3 separate regions of the Homo sapiens genome follow, and regions 2 and 3 are each linked to region 1. Evidence: promoter capture Hi-C in 16 types of primary human blood cells and fetal thymus (Javierre and others, 2016). All regions are on one chromosome and are shown on one strand. The core of a region is centred on a gene start or on the middle of the fragment in contact, and the rest is flanking DNA. Distances in the headings are between cores, read along the strand shown. Region 1 holds the start of CHASERR (CHD2 adjacent suppressive regulatory RNA). Region 2 overlaps CHD2 (chromodomain helicase DNA binding protein 2). Region 3 overlaps CHD2 (chromodomain helicase DNA binding protein 2).

Region 1 (4,668 bases), core at 1-2,500:
AGAGAGCTACCTCTTTTTTTTTTCCCCATCCATTTCAGGAAAGTTTAGGTTTTCATTTTTTTCCTATGGTCTTCTTAGAGTTGTTTCCACGTTAAAGTAGGAAGAAGTAACGAAAAAAAAGTGAGATTTGCCGAAAGCAAATGAAACTTGTTTTGCCTGGTTCTCTGGAAGGAGGTTGAAAAGGTAGACTATGATTTTTCAGGTTCAAACTGCTACTCTAACAAACATTGTCCTACAGGGTGGAATCCAGTCAACCGGTATTGAGATTGATTCGCTAAGGCCTCAGGACACTGGACATTCTTTTTAATTGTTTTTTTTGATTTCCATGACGACAGCTCACAAGACACTAGACATTCTTTTAGGCTCTCAGGTAAATGCGCAACAGGCAGTCTACAAATCCACAAATAAATCGCATCTCAACTCGGATACTGGGGCTAGGGAATGTGCTGATGGTAAAACCATTGGTCCTGACTGTGTGACCTTCATGGAAGGCCTGGGTGCTTAGAACAAATATTTTGAGGATATGGCTGCTTGCCCAAGGGCTGTGGGCCTGTATCTTGTTTGCTCATCATCCTGTCAGTCATTTTTTTCTTTCCCTTTTTTTAAAGACAAAATCTGAACCTAGAAACACCGAAGCCAGAGCTTTTTCTAGACGCGAATCCACTATTTGTGCGACCCTGCACTAACCATTCTAGCCTGGCCTAGACCATACCAGGAACCCTCCAGCTAGCCTGGAGGGGTCCGCACTGCGGGGAAAAAAGCAACAGCTCAGCTCCAACCCCAAAGGTTCCATCACCAGCCAATCGTGGCCCGGGGCTTCTCAAGAAAACCAGAAACGCCTACGGACAGTGAATGGCACTAAGGCCAGCCTATCCGCACGAAGGAGGCGGAAGGGGTGGTGTTGAAATTAACCAATAGAATGGAAGAAGTTGTTGTTGGGAGGGAGGAAGACGCCAGCTAACGTGCGTGAGGCCGCTCCCGGATAGGGGATGCAGGAAGCTCGTGGAGCCAATGGCCGCGGCGGGCGGGCGGCGGCGCGCGTGCGCGTTGGCCCCCGGGCCTGCGGGCGGGAGGCGGGGATGGTGGGGGAGGGGAGCGGGCTGGAGCGCGGCGGAGCTCCTGCCGCCGCCGCAGCCGCTGCCGCCGCAGCGAAGAGGCCATGTTGTGTGGTGTGTGGGGCGGGGGGAGGAGGAGGAGGGAGTAAAGCCTAGAGAGGAGACGGGAGAGAGACACCACACACACGGCACAAGATGGCCGGAGAGGCAGCAGCACCCCGAGCTGTCAGGCGTTCCGCCGCGGCCGCGAGGCCCGCCGGCCGGCGGGGAGCTACGCCCGGACGGCCAGCAGGCCCGCGGGAGTGGGGCTGCCGCGGCTGAGGCGAGGCGGGCCGCGCGCGTCGGCGTCACAGCCCGCGGCAGAGGCGCCCAGGGCGGCCGGGCCCACGACGCCGAAAGCGCCGCTGCGGTTGCCGCCTCGGAGGCTCCCCCGGGCCCCGGCGGCTGGACCCGGCGCGGGCGGGAGGCTCGGGCGGGCGGTCCGGCCCGGGACTCGGGTTTGGGCGACCAGGAGGTGCCGGTGGCCGCGCTCGGACCCGGTGAGTGGCTCCCTAGCTCCTTTTATTGTCCTTTGTCCTTGGGAGGAAAAGCAAAATGTCCTTGAGCGCGCGAGCAGGAGGGGGCGGCGGGCCGGGCCTCGCCGCTCGGCTCTTCTCGCACTGCCCCTCCGTGGTCGGGGGCCGGCTCTCGCCGGCGGGATGCGCCTCGGTGCCCTGGGCCCGAGTCGTAGGGTCCTGGGGTAGGGGGCACGCGGGGCCCCGCTGCAGAGCCCGCGGGCGGCAGGTGGGCGGGGGGCAGCCTCGTCGCCGGGACTGGATCCGCCGGGAAAGGGGCGGCGGGTGAATGCCGGCGAGAGCCCGAAGGGGATCGGGCGTGGAGAGCCCCTTTCTGTCCTGGTGAGTTATTTTGATATTTAGGGTAAAAAAATCCCTTTCAGGTTCTCCAACGGAGGAGCTTTTTAACCTCTTTCCGGTGAGGTGGGAACTCATCTTCATGATCGAATTTAAAAGAACAATGGAACCCTGACTACGTTTCAACAAAAATAAAACTTGTTTTTTTCCCTCCTATTGGGTGTTGGCTTTTAACTCTTTCAAAGCCGATTTTGAAACGGCTGCAGTGATACATGCGAAGGTACTTGCTGCTTATTAAACCTTTATGACGTTAAGGTTGTCTTTGAAAAATGCAAGTTGGAGGAGTGCTTCTGGTATTTCAGAATTACGAAGACAAGTTTACTGTGTCGTCAAGGCTGTTTAATGGAAATAGATTTGATAATTACGGTGCTAGCTAGCTGATGACGTTTGGTTAATGTAGTTTATTTTACCGAGTAATGACGCCAAGATCATTTGATCTCCTGATATTTAAATATGATTAAATACACTGTTTGGTACTTTTTAAAAAGGTCTCAAGGAGCCGTTATCTGCAACTTCTCACACCTGAATGTTAGAACGTACTTGGGTCAATTCCTAGTCTTTAAAAGTTCATAATTTAATTATTTTTAAGAATTTATATTATCACAAGCCATGATCGAAAAACTTTCACAAAAGAACATTCTGACACCAAATCTCTTCCTGAAGTTACTTTCTCGTAATGTAAATATGAATAAAGTAGGACTGCTCTCGGTAATGGGCGATGAAGAGGAGCCATATTTGTTGCATTTGTTGCATGTATAAAAATCTAGATATGCTTAAAACGGAACAGTATTTTAAAAGTACAGGTTTCATAAAATTTAGTAGAGTTCTCTGTATAGTCTCTAATCTTAGAAAAATGTTGGAAGGGTAATTTTTAAGTGTAGTGGTTTGAAGAACAAACCAGAAGCGCACAAACCTTTGTGTATTTTAGAATATATTTGTCTTCATTCTGCGGAGCTCTTGTGTTGTAAAGGTGCAGAACTACGTAAAAATAGTGTTGGGCAGACTTACATAGTACATCTGAAATCAGATACTGGTTTATTCGACCATATTTCTAAGGGCATTTTTCCAGTAAAATTGTTTTATTTTTTGAGTAGCCTTCCTATAGTGGTACATGTTACATCAGTTGCGCATATCTTGATTTTACAGAATCTGTCTTAAGTACCAATTTTGGTTTTTCAAATCAATGTTTCTGAAATTTTTGAACACTGAAAGTGGTTTTAAATGAATATTCTGAATCTAGTTCTTTAGAATCCTCTTTGAATTGTGAAATGCAAAATAATTGTTAGCAGTTTAACCTGAAAGATCTTTTTACATGATAAATGGGGGAGGAGAAAGACTGAAATGAAAATGTTGAAGACCCTGATTTGAAATTGAGTGTAAAGGTCTAGATACTGTAAGTTTTAGAGTAGCTTTAGAGACAAAGCTAGTATCCCACTTGGTGAGATCAAGTAACTTGTGGTTTAAAATTTAAAGTAACCAGTGGCCATTTTAACTTCACTAATTTCTCTTGGAGGAGCTAATTTTTAATTGCTCATGATTGTAAAACATACTTCCGGATGGTAAGGGAGATGTTAAGATGATTTGTCTTGAAGAATGGTAAACTTTTTCTTTGTTTATTGCCTGTCATAAAAAGAGGGAAAGTAAAAAAAAAAAGGTTCATAATCTTAAATCAGTCCAAAAATTTGAATTTTCTGTATTTCTGTTTAATTCAATGCGTTAATCTTTAGCATTGGTCAATACAGCCAAAAGATGAGGAAAACAAAGACTGATAGATACTAAGATAAGAAATAACTGCAACCATAAATGTATACAGGTTATGTGTCCATGAGCCATCTCTTCAGTTTGCCCATAGATTTTTGTCTGTGGAATATTTTCTTGTTTCATCACACTGAATCGTTGGCCAAGAAATGCTTGAAAATCAAAACATTAATATCATCTTTCTTCTTTTTTTTAAAGGTGACTTAAGAGATTAAAATTAATTTGGTTGCTGTTGGTTCTGAACAAATAATGAGTTCTTTTATTTGAGGTAAGAGTGGGTTAATTTTTATTGTTTTGACAAAAATTAGCTTATTAGGCTTTTGTTTTATCTTTAATAATTTACATTTCAATTAATGAATGGGTATCATTTTTAAAAGTTGTGATTATGAATATGAGTAAACTATCAAATAATTTGACAAAAGCCTTTAAGCCTTTTCACTGCAGGAAAGATTAAAAGTATATACGCATAGCCATTGTAACTTAATGTACCCTTTGAATAGTTTAAAATACTGAAGGTCCTTTAAGCCTTTGTTTAATTTTGGGAACAAGAGAAGACTGATTAGATTTTGAGGAAAACCATGAACCAAAGATAGCTTTTTTTTTCTGTTTAACTCTGTATATTGTGCAAACAATTTTAATCTTTTAAGTATTTAAAGAAATAAGCTTATTGGAGAATTTGAACTAGTTTGCTATTCATACTGATAGATTTTAGGGAAGAACATTTAAAAAATCAGGTTTTGAGCATAGATTTTAGTTTCTTTTTTGTAATTAAAAAGTTTAAAAACACTTATTTTTACTTGCTATTGTTTGCTTCATAATTAAGTTTAGAATCTTATTTGTTTTCACCAAAAGGTATGCCATTTTGAAGACTGAGACGTTGGAGTTTTATCCTAGAGGATAAAGGAAATCTTTGGGAAAGTCAGTATTTTATATAGCAAGTAAGT
Region 2 (4,668 bases), core at 620-3,119, 120 kb after region 1:
TCAGGTTTGGCTTGCCAGTTTGTAACCTCTGGTCTAAGTAAAGTGAATAGTAAGTTGGTATCATTTAGTGTGCTATTTCAGTGACAACTTTATGGAATTTCTGAGAGTGTAATTGTACTTGGATATTAGCTCCAAGAGGATCAGCAGTGTGTACAGGAACTAGCATGGATTTGAGTCATACATACAGATATTTATTTATTTATTATGAGTTGCTTTTTGAGATGGAGTCTTGCTTTGTCACCCAGGGTAGAGTGCAGTGGCGCGATCTGGGCTCACAGCAGCTTCCACCTCCTGGGTTCAAGTGATTCTCCTGCCGCAGCCTCCCAAATAGCTAGGATTACAGGCACCTGCCACCACACCTGGCTAGTTTTTGTATTTTTAGAAGAGACAGGGTTTCACCATGTTGGCCAGGCTGGTGTCAAACTCCTGACCTCAGGTGACAGGTCTGCCTCAGCCTCCCAAAGTGCTGGAATTATGAGCATGAGCCACTGTGCCTGGCCAATACATACGTACATTTAAATACTAGCAACCTAATCAGTTATTAGCTGACTTTGTATAGGTATATAATCTCTTTGGTACTCAGTTTCCATCCGTGAAATGAGAATAATAAACTTACGTTGAAGGGTTGCTATGAGAATTAAATGAGAGGATATCAGTAAAGAGCTTCTGCCTCTACAGTTGTAACTGGTTATTACTGGAAAGTTTAGACTTCTCTGAGTCCCTTGAGGCTATTTGCTTGAAAACAAGCTTCTAAGTATAGACAGTGATGAACCACTGGGGGCAGTGCTTCTTTTTCCAGAAAGTACATAAGTAGATATAAAATTTGTAGCAAAAATTCATAGCCCTGTTTTGTTTCCTAGGATGATGGCTTGGAAAAAAGTCCAATGAAAAAAAAACAGAAGAAGAAAGAGAACAAGGAGAACAAGGAGAAACAAATGAGTTCTAGGAAAGACAAAGAAGGGGACAAGGAAAGAAAGAAGTCAAAAGATAAGAAAGAGAAGGTAATGATGCCCTTCTGTTCATGCAGATATCCACAGCCTTTGCAATTCGCCATTTGGATTTAGAAGTAGAATGAGATTTGAGGGCCCTGGAATAATTGTCTTTTTATGGGTATGTTCAAGAAGGATGGGTGGGGCCGTTGATGGGATACCTGCACCTGTCCTTGCAGAGAGAGGGGAACCTGCAAGTTTGGGGTGTTCTTTAAAAAAGAAGGCCTTTACTTGGTCTTTTATGACATATTTCAGGGGGAAATGTTTGAATGAGATAGGACAGGTGAGAGAAATCGGCATTTACATGTAAATACGAAATACGTTCTCAGATTCATATTAGAGGAGCACAATCCACAACTGAATTTGAATACTTGAAGAGTTTGAGTCAAAAACAAATATTAGCAAGAGTTATTGGAATATAAATGGATGAAAAGCCTTGCTATTATAACCTTTACATTAGGGGTTTTATGAAGTTCATTCTAAACCAAAGAATTTGGTACAGTGTTGCAGTGTATACTTGCTGACCTCTGAACACAGTAAAATCATTGCCAAAACACAAACAACTGCTGTAATTCTAATATCCAGTTGATAACTCTAATAGATTTCTTGATAAGTGCCTTTGAAACTTTTACTTTGAAATTTTATATTAAATATAAAATAAACTTCTATTTAAGAACAAATATAAAAATCAGATTAGGCTGTTTGGGTAGTTTTTCCTCCTCACTTAGCAGTATATCACAACTTTCCAAGTGATTAAATGTTAAAGTCATTTTTACAGCCTTGGCAACGTAGGGAGACCTCGTCTCTACAAAATAAAAACAAGCAAAAATCTAGCTGGGCATTGCGGCATGTGCCTACGGGCCCAGTTGCATGGGAGGCAGAGGTGAGAGGATTGCTTAGGCCCAGGAGCTCGAGGCTGCAGTGAGCCATGGTTGTGTCACACTTCACTCCAGCTTGGGCAACAGAGGAAGACCTTGTCTCAAAAAAAAAAAAAAAAAAATCATTTTTAATAGTTGGGGAGGATTCTGTTTGGGTGTAACATGTTAGAAGCAATTTGAATTTCCCATTTTGAAATACTTTCTAATTTTTGATGTTAATAGACCATACTGTGATAAATAACCTGTGCATTTGTGCTCCCACAGAAAGACATTATTTTTCTTAAAGTAAAATATTAAAAAAATAAAAAAAGAGCAATTTTAGCAAACATCTGTTTATCCACTCTCCAGATACCACAACTGTTGTTAATATTTTTTCATGTTTACTTTAAGTGGCTTTTTTTTTTTTTTTGGCGGGGCCAGGCGGGGGGAGACGCTGATATCTTTTGTATTTCATGAACATATGACTGATACTGTTGAAGCTGCCCCCTGTTCCCTTTCCCTGATTTTATTACTCTTCCTCTGTTTTCCCCATAACCACTACTGTGAAGTGGGTCCGAAACCTTCCTGTTCATGTTTTTATATTTGTAGTACATATTATAGTGTATATCCATATAACTATAAACAAAGCATACTGTATGCTTAAAAATGTACATGAAGTCAAGCTAGGCGCAGTGGCTCACACTTGTAATCCCAGCACTTTGGGAGGCCGAGGTGGACAGATCACAAGGTCAGGAGTTTGAGACCTGCCTGGACAACATGGTGAAACCCCGTCTGTACTAAAAATACAAAAAATAGCTGGGTGTGGTGGCGTGCGCCTGTAATCTGAGCTACTTGGGAGGCTGAGGCAGAAGAATCTCTTGAACCCAGGAGGCAGAGGTTGCAGTGAGCCGAGATCATGACGCTGCACTCCGGCCAGGATGACAGAGCGAGAATCTGTCTCAAAAAAAAAAAAAAAAAAAGTACCTGAAGTCATTTTATATATTCTTCTGCAACCTTTCCTTCAATGTAATTGAGATTTGTATAGAGTTCATTTACAATAATGTAGTTAATACAGATTCCTAAACCAAAGGGTATGCTGTTAATAAAGGTTGCTACATGATACTCTAGAGAGTTCTGCCAATTTACAAGCTTAACCTCTTGATGACATTTCTGTGCATTTTATGGATAAAGGAGTAAGAAGCCCAAAAATAGCACTGATGAAATTGAAGTTATAATTGGGTACATTTAGAGATGGAAATGGGAATAATGTGTGAGTAAGCTGCTAATCAGACAGGTTTGTCTTCATGATGTTTCAGGATTTTATTTTACTTTTTAAAAAATAAACTGAGACCATCATATTTACCCATTTTAATAACACAACATAGGTAAGAAACCTAAATCGCACGGTAGGATTGCACAAATGACAATGACTCCTTGTAACTCTTTTTTAAAAGCCTAAAAGTGGTGATGCCAAATCTTCGAGTAAATCAAAGCGATCTCAGGGTCCTGTCCATATTACAGCAGGAAGTGAACCTGTCCCCATTGGAGAGGATGAGGATGATGATCTGGACCAGGAGACATTCAGCATAGTAAGTCTTGAAATCGGGGGGTGCCAGTGTCTGCAGCCGCGGTACTTGCTGTGGCTCTGCCTTTTATAGGTCCAGCCAGAGCTTCAGTTGAGCTAAGCAATAGTACATTACTTGGGAAACACATTGCTTACAGTATCGGAAGACCATGTGCTCTTCAGCAGGCTGGCAGGAAGAGATTTTCTTGTCTTTTATTGAGGGGAAGTTTAAGGAGTGGATTTCATGTCTTGTGCTCCTAGTTAAGAGAGGCTCTCAGGGCCCTTAGAGGCATTTGGGAAAGAGAAGTGTTCACTGAGCAAGTATTTATTGAATGTTTTCTGTGTTCCAGCCCCCAGAGTTACCATGTTGAATAGATAACCATTTCTATCATCGTAAACTGTACATTGGAGTAGGGGAGTTAGATAACTACACAAATCATGTTGGTGCCCCTGTGACAGGGCTCTGGAGGAGAGAGAGTGCATACTGTGGAGATCCTGTGAGAAGGGAATTTGACCTAGTCAGGGGTTGCCAGGAGGGCTTGTGTAAGGAAGTGATGTTTGAGTTGGGTTCTGAAGGAAGAATAAAAGGTAACAGGAGAAGAGGGGAGGGCAAGGCGATGGGGAGCGAGTGCATGGACCAGGTCTTGCACGGGATTGGATACAGGCCAGTGTGTCCTCAAGGTCCCTTTGCCCCTGGCTGGAGCTGCAGGTATAGATTTCACTGTGCCACCATCCCTTCCCCACCTCTCTGTGGTCTCTTCTCCCCATACTTCCACAAATCCATTAATCAAACGGCTCATTCAGGCTGAAAGAAAAAGCGGTTTTCTTTCAAATTTGAAAATACTTCCATCCTGTGGCAGCAAAGGACCCTGTTGACCCTGTCCTGTAACCTCTCTCTGACTTCTTTCTCTGAGTTCTCTAAAACCTATACACGTATGTATATAGATATTGTTTTCTTTGCACTTAACTCTGTTTTCTTAAGTCTCTTTTTTGCCTGTGAGCTCTCTGAGGACAAGTATTGTTTTATATAAAGGTCATTTAGATGCTAGAAGTATATCAATAAATGAGTAAATTGAATAAATGAATAAACTAATTACATAGCCAGCTAACCAATCTGTTTCCTAGTCTTTCTTTTCCGAGTGTTTATAAGAGAAAATGATATCTAATGTTCTATGGTACCATGATATTTAAAAAATGCTCTTACAAATGACTCATTTAATCTTGTTTTTATATTATGAAATCTTTAAAAGATGCAGAG
Region 3 (4,668 bases), core at 575-3,074, 100 kb after region 1:
TGGAAGATGAAGAAGAGCTAGAAGAGCGTCCTCACAAGGACTGGGATGAGATCATTCCAGAGGAACAAAGGAAAAAAGTAGAGGAGGAAGAGCGGCAGAAGGAGCTAGAAGAAATTTATATGCTGCCTCGAATTCGGAGTTCCACTAAAAAGGTGATCAAGTGAGATGAAAGATATGAAATTATTTCTTATGTTGTGAATGCTACAGAAGTGTTGATTATTCAAAGAAGAGGCCTTGCATTGTTCCCCTGACACAGAGGCTTCAGGAGCAGAGTTGATACTGTAGGAAACTTAACAAAGGAAAGTGGAGAAATCTGCAGAGCTCCTGAGCACACCTGTGAGACATCGGATTTGGTCTTTGCAAATTGGCTCTTTGTGAAGCTGATAAACAGGGTCTGAAATTTCCAGAAGTTTGCATTTTGCCTTTGAGTAGTCCTCACAGTTTGGCTGTTAATTGCCACTGCCTTCAACTTTCAGAAAGTCACACCTCTGTTTGTCCATAACAGTTCACAGCACTTGATATAAATACTTAGTAAAGGATTATATAACTATAAATAAGAAACATATACCAACTTGACAGTTCACAAAGCTCCATCACAGACACTATCTAATTTGATTTTTGTAACAACATTGAAATAGGTAGAACAAGTTTTTTTACCCATTTTGTTGGAGGTAATAGACACAGATTTGTTCAAGGTCACAGTAAATCAGTATGAGGTAACACTAGCTACCATTTATTGAGCCCTTACAATGTGCTAGGCATACTTCTAAGTGCTTTAACTTACTGAAAACCATCTGTTATAGGTACTATTGTCTTCATTTTTCAAATGAGAAAATAAAGGCACAAAGAGTAAAATTACTTGCCCAAAGGAGTAAACATGAACCTGTTTTATAATGGGATATTGTAAAAATATTCATATATTTTTAATCCAGTTCACTTATCGTTATATTACAATGTCTCTGAAAGTATGACTGTCCTAAGTGGGTATTTCTCCAAGACCTGTCTCCCCTTATTTGTCAAAGGAAAATTGACTTGTCTGATATGGTGAGAAGTTCTGAATACTAAAGAATTAAGATGGCCTTCTCTTAGTCCTTTCACCACTTGAACTTCGCACTTGTTACAGTGTGACTTTGCCTCGATCTTTCTCAGGCTCAGACAAATGACAGTGACTCTGACACTGAGTCTAAGAGGCAGGCCCAGAGATCCTCTGCTTCTGAGAGTGAAACGGAAGACTCTGATGATGACAAGAAGCCAAAGCGCAGAGGGCGTCCGAGGAGTGTGCGGAAGGACCTCGTGGAGGGATTTACTGATGCAGAGATCCGAAGGTTGGTGGAGGCTCTGTTCTCACTGAGCTTGTTTGAAAGTGCGTACTGTAAGTCTTGGGTTGACTGGATCCTGGACATCGTGACAGGGTAGGCAGAGGCTAATACCTACAAAAAAGGAAAGAGAAGCTGGGTCCTGTCCCAGATCTGTAGGATGATCCTTCCTTCTCCAAGGTTTCTTTCTGTTGAGATCACTTTTATTTGTTGTTCATCTCTCTATTTCTCTCTTATTCTCTGGTTATTCAGAACATTTTCACAAAGTTCAGCTCGGGGAAGGAGATAATTGACATACATGTATATACAGACTTATGTATCTGTATATAAAAGAAATATCAAAAATAAAAATGGTACAAATAAGTCTACCCTCACTACCTCTCCCCTCCGCCACAATCCCACTTCCACCTGTGTTAGTACTGACATCAGTTTGCTAGTGGTTTGCTTTGATTTATAAGTAGTATGTACAGCATGTTGTTCAGCACCTTGCTTTCCCCGATCCCATTTAAAATCCATTTTAGACATCTTTCTATGTGAGTGATTACTATACATTTCTTGGTATCTGATTCAAATGTCTCTATCCTCCATAAAAAAATCTAAAATTGTTGCTTACAAATTATTTTTTTTCCAGTTTCCATCTTTTTTTTTTAAGCCTGAAGAAAATAGAAAGTATAAAGATGGTTTTAAGGCCTAATCCATATTATAATTATATTAAATAGTCCTTTAAGTTTCATGTATTTGAAACTGTGAGGTGTTTCTTTTCACTTAAAGGTCACACCTATTCTTCTTTCTTTGTTTAATTTACTATGGAAAAATAGAAATATTTCAAAATACTGACAGAATAGCATGTAACACATCCCCTCTTGTGCTTATCATCTTAACAATTTTGAATTTGTAGCCAAAATTGTATGTATATATACACACCCCACCTCTTCTTGCTCCCTATTCCCAGTATTATTTTGAGAAGAATGTGTTTTCTGCTATGGGGCAGTATGTTCTATAGCTGTATTTGGCTTAGTGTTTTTCAGGTCTTTAATTTCTTCATTGATTTTCTGTATAGTTGTGGTTATTTTGGTAGAGTCAGAATCTTGCTCTCTTGCACAGGCTGGAGTATGATCCTATCTCACTGTAACCTCACACTCCTGGGCTCAAGTGATCCTCCTGCCTGAGTGCCTTTTTCACTCAGCCTCCCAGGTAGCCAGGTCTACAGGCATGTGCCACCATGTCTGGCTAATTAAAAATTTTTTTTTTTGGTAGAGACAAGGTTTCATTATGTTGCCCAGGCTGGTCTCAGACTCCTGGCCTCAAGTATCCTCCTGCTTCAGCCTCCCAAAGTGTTGGGATTATAGGCCTGAGCCACCGTGCGCAGCCTAGTTGTTCTACCCATTATTGAAAATGGGATGTTGACATCTCTGTTACTCTTATATGATCCATTTGTTCTTCAATTGTTAGTTTTTGCTTCATGTGTTTTTGGACTCTTATTAATTGTATATATTTTTTATAATCGATAGGTCTTGATTGGCCTTTTTATTGTAACATGTATTTCTGTCTGTAGTAACAATTTTTGTTTTAATTCCTATTTTCAGTTTGATATTAGTATAGCCACTCCAGCTTTCTTTTTGGGTATTTGAAATTTTAAAAAATGGTATTTGGCCAGGCATGGTGGTTCACGCCTGTAATCCCAGCACTTTGGGAGGCCAAGGCAGGCAGATCGCTGGAGCCTAGGAGTTTGAGACCAGCATGGTCTCAACATGGCGAAACCCTCTCTCTACTAAAAATACAAAAAATTAGCCAGGTGTGGTGGTACACACCTGCAGTCCCAGGTACTTGGGAGGCTGAGGCTGAGGCACGAGAATTGCTTGAACCCAGGAGGCCAAGGTTTGCAGTGAGCCGAGATGGCACCACTAAACTCCAGCCTGGGTGACAGAGCAAAACTCTCTAAAAGAAGAAGGAAAAAAAAAAAAAGATGGTATCTTAAAATTTTTTAAAAATATTTTTTCTGCCAATCTCTTTTTTTTGATTGCAGTATTTAATCTATTTACATTTAATGCAGTTATTATAAAGTAGGAATTATGTCTGCATTTTGCTATTTGTCTTCTATATGTCATGTTTTTTTTGTTTATTTCCCCATTACTACTTTCCTTTGTGTTAAATATATAATATACCATTTTAATTACCTTAAAAAAAAAACTTTTTTTTTCACTTATTTTCTTAGTGGTTGCCCTAGAAATTACAAGTAACATCTTAGAACAATTTACTTTGAATTAACATCAATTTAATTTCAATGGCATTATAAAAACTTTGCCCCAGTTATAGCTCACCATCCCCATTTGTGCTGTTGTCGCACATTACATCTTTACACATTTTAAACCCATCAATGCAGTTTTATAATTCATACTTTATATAGTTAGTTGTCTCTTTTTTTTTTTTCTTTTGAGACGGAGTTTTGCTCTTCTCACCAAGGCTGGGGTACAGTGGTGCAATCTCGGCCCACTGCAACCTCCACTTCCCAGGTTCAAGTGACTGTCCTGCCTTAGCCTCCCAAGTAGCTGAGATTACTGGCTCCTGCCACCACGCTGGCTAATTATTTTTGTATTTTTAGTAGAGATGGGATTTCACCATGTTGGCCAGGCTGGTCTTGAACTTCTGACCTCAGGTGATCGGTGTGCCTCGGCCTCCCAAAGGGCTGGGATTAGAAGCGTGAGCCACCCACACCCAGCCTAGTTAGTTGTCTTTTAAAATCAGATAGAAGGAAAAGAGTTACAAAAATGCATGTATACTGTTTTTATATTTACTTACTCTATTATTCCATGGGTGCTCTTATTTCTTCATGTGATTTGAGTTACTATTTTATGTCCTTTCATGTCTGCCCAAAGGACTCTCTTTTAGCATTTTATTTTGAGGCAGGTCTGCTAACAATGGATTCTCTATTTTGGCTTAGCTCGCACTGTTAATTTCATCTTCATTTTTGAAGGAAAGTCTTAATTTCTTTTTTTCTGTTTCTCACGTGGGATAATCTCAATTGGCCTATCTTCAGATTTGGCAGTTCTCTCTTCTTCAGGCTAATATCTGCTGCTGAGCCTCACCAGTGATTTTTTTTTTCATTTCCGTTATTGTAGTTTTCAACTCTAGAATTTCTATTTCACTCTTTAAAAAATGTCCGTTTTTAAACAGCATTTCTGTTTCTATTGATATCATTTTCGACCTTTCTTTTTAATTCTCTAGGCAGACTTTTTTTAACTCTTGTAAATATTTATAATAGCTGATTAGCATCCTTGTCTTATAAGCCTACATGCTAGACTTCCTTAGGGATGGTTTCTATTACCTGCTTTTTTTCCTATGTATACTTCAT

Evidence for each region. Contacts are between HindIII fragments. The CHiCAGO score rates a contact against its expected background, and 5 or more counts as called.
Region 2: a fragment that was not itself captured here is called in contact with the fragment with the promoter of CHASERR in region 1 in 10 of 17 cell types (naive B cells, total B cells, activated CD4 T cells and 7 more); the score reaches 10.7 in naive B cells.
Region 3: a fragment that was not itself captured here is called in contact with the fragment with the promoter of CHASERR in region 1 in 9 of 17 cell types (naive B cells, total B cells, activated CD4 T cells and 6 more); the score reaches 12.1 in naive B cells.

Annotation. Positions count from the first base shown.
Region 1 is chr15:92,881,593-92,886,260 of GRCh38, forward strand. CHASERR (CHD2 adjacent suppressive regulatory RNA) reads left to right here and starts at 1,251. Exons shown (of 6, transcript NR_037601.1): 1 at 1,251-1,594; 2 at 1,993-2,186; 3 at 3,923-3,992; 4 at 4,577-4,662. RefSeq lists enhancers at 578-667, 1,093-1,734 and silencers at 978-1,107, 1,728-1,977. The HindIII fragment of the contact is 7,161 bases long and covers 1-4,385 here.
Region 2 is chr15:93,001,317-93,005,984 of GRCh38, forward strand. CHD2 (chromodomain helicase DNA binding protein 2) reads left to right here. Exons shown (of 39, transcript NM_001271.4): 33 at 861-1,001; 34 at 3,301-3,435. Among named protein-coding and RNA genes, the nearest start is that of RGMA, 86 kb to the right of the region's middle. The HindIII fragment of the contact is 2,248 bases long and covers 746-2,993 here.
Region 3 is chr15:92,984,349-92,989,016 of GRCh38, forward strand. CHD2 (chromodomain helicase DNA binding protein 2) reads left to right here. Exons shown (of 39, transcript NM_001271.4): 25 at 1-152; 26 at 1,150-1,325. Among named protein-coding and RNA genes, the nearest start is that of MIR3175, 82 kb to the left of the region's middle. The HindIII fragment of the contact is 8,348 bases long and covers 1-4,668 here.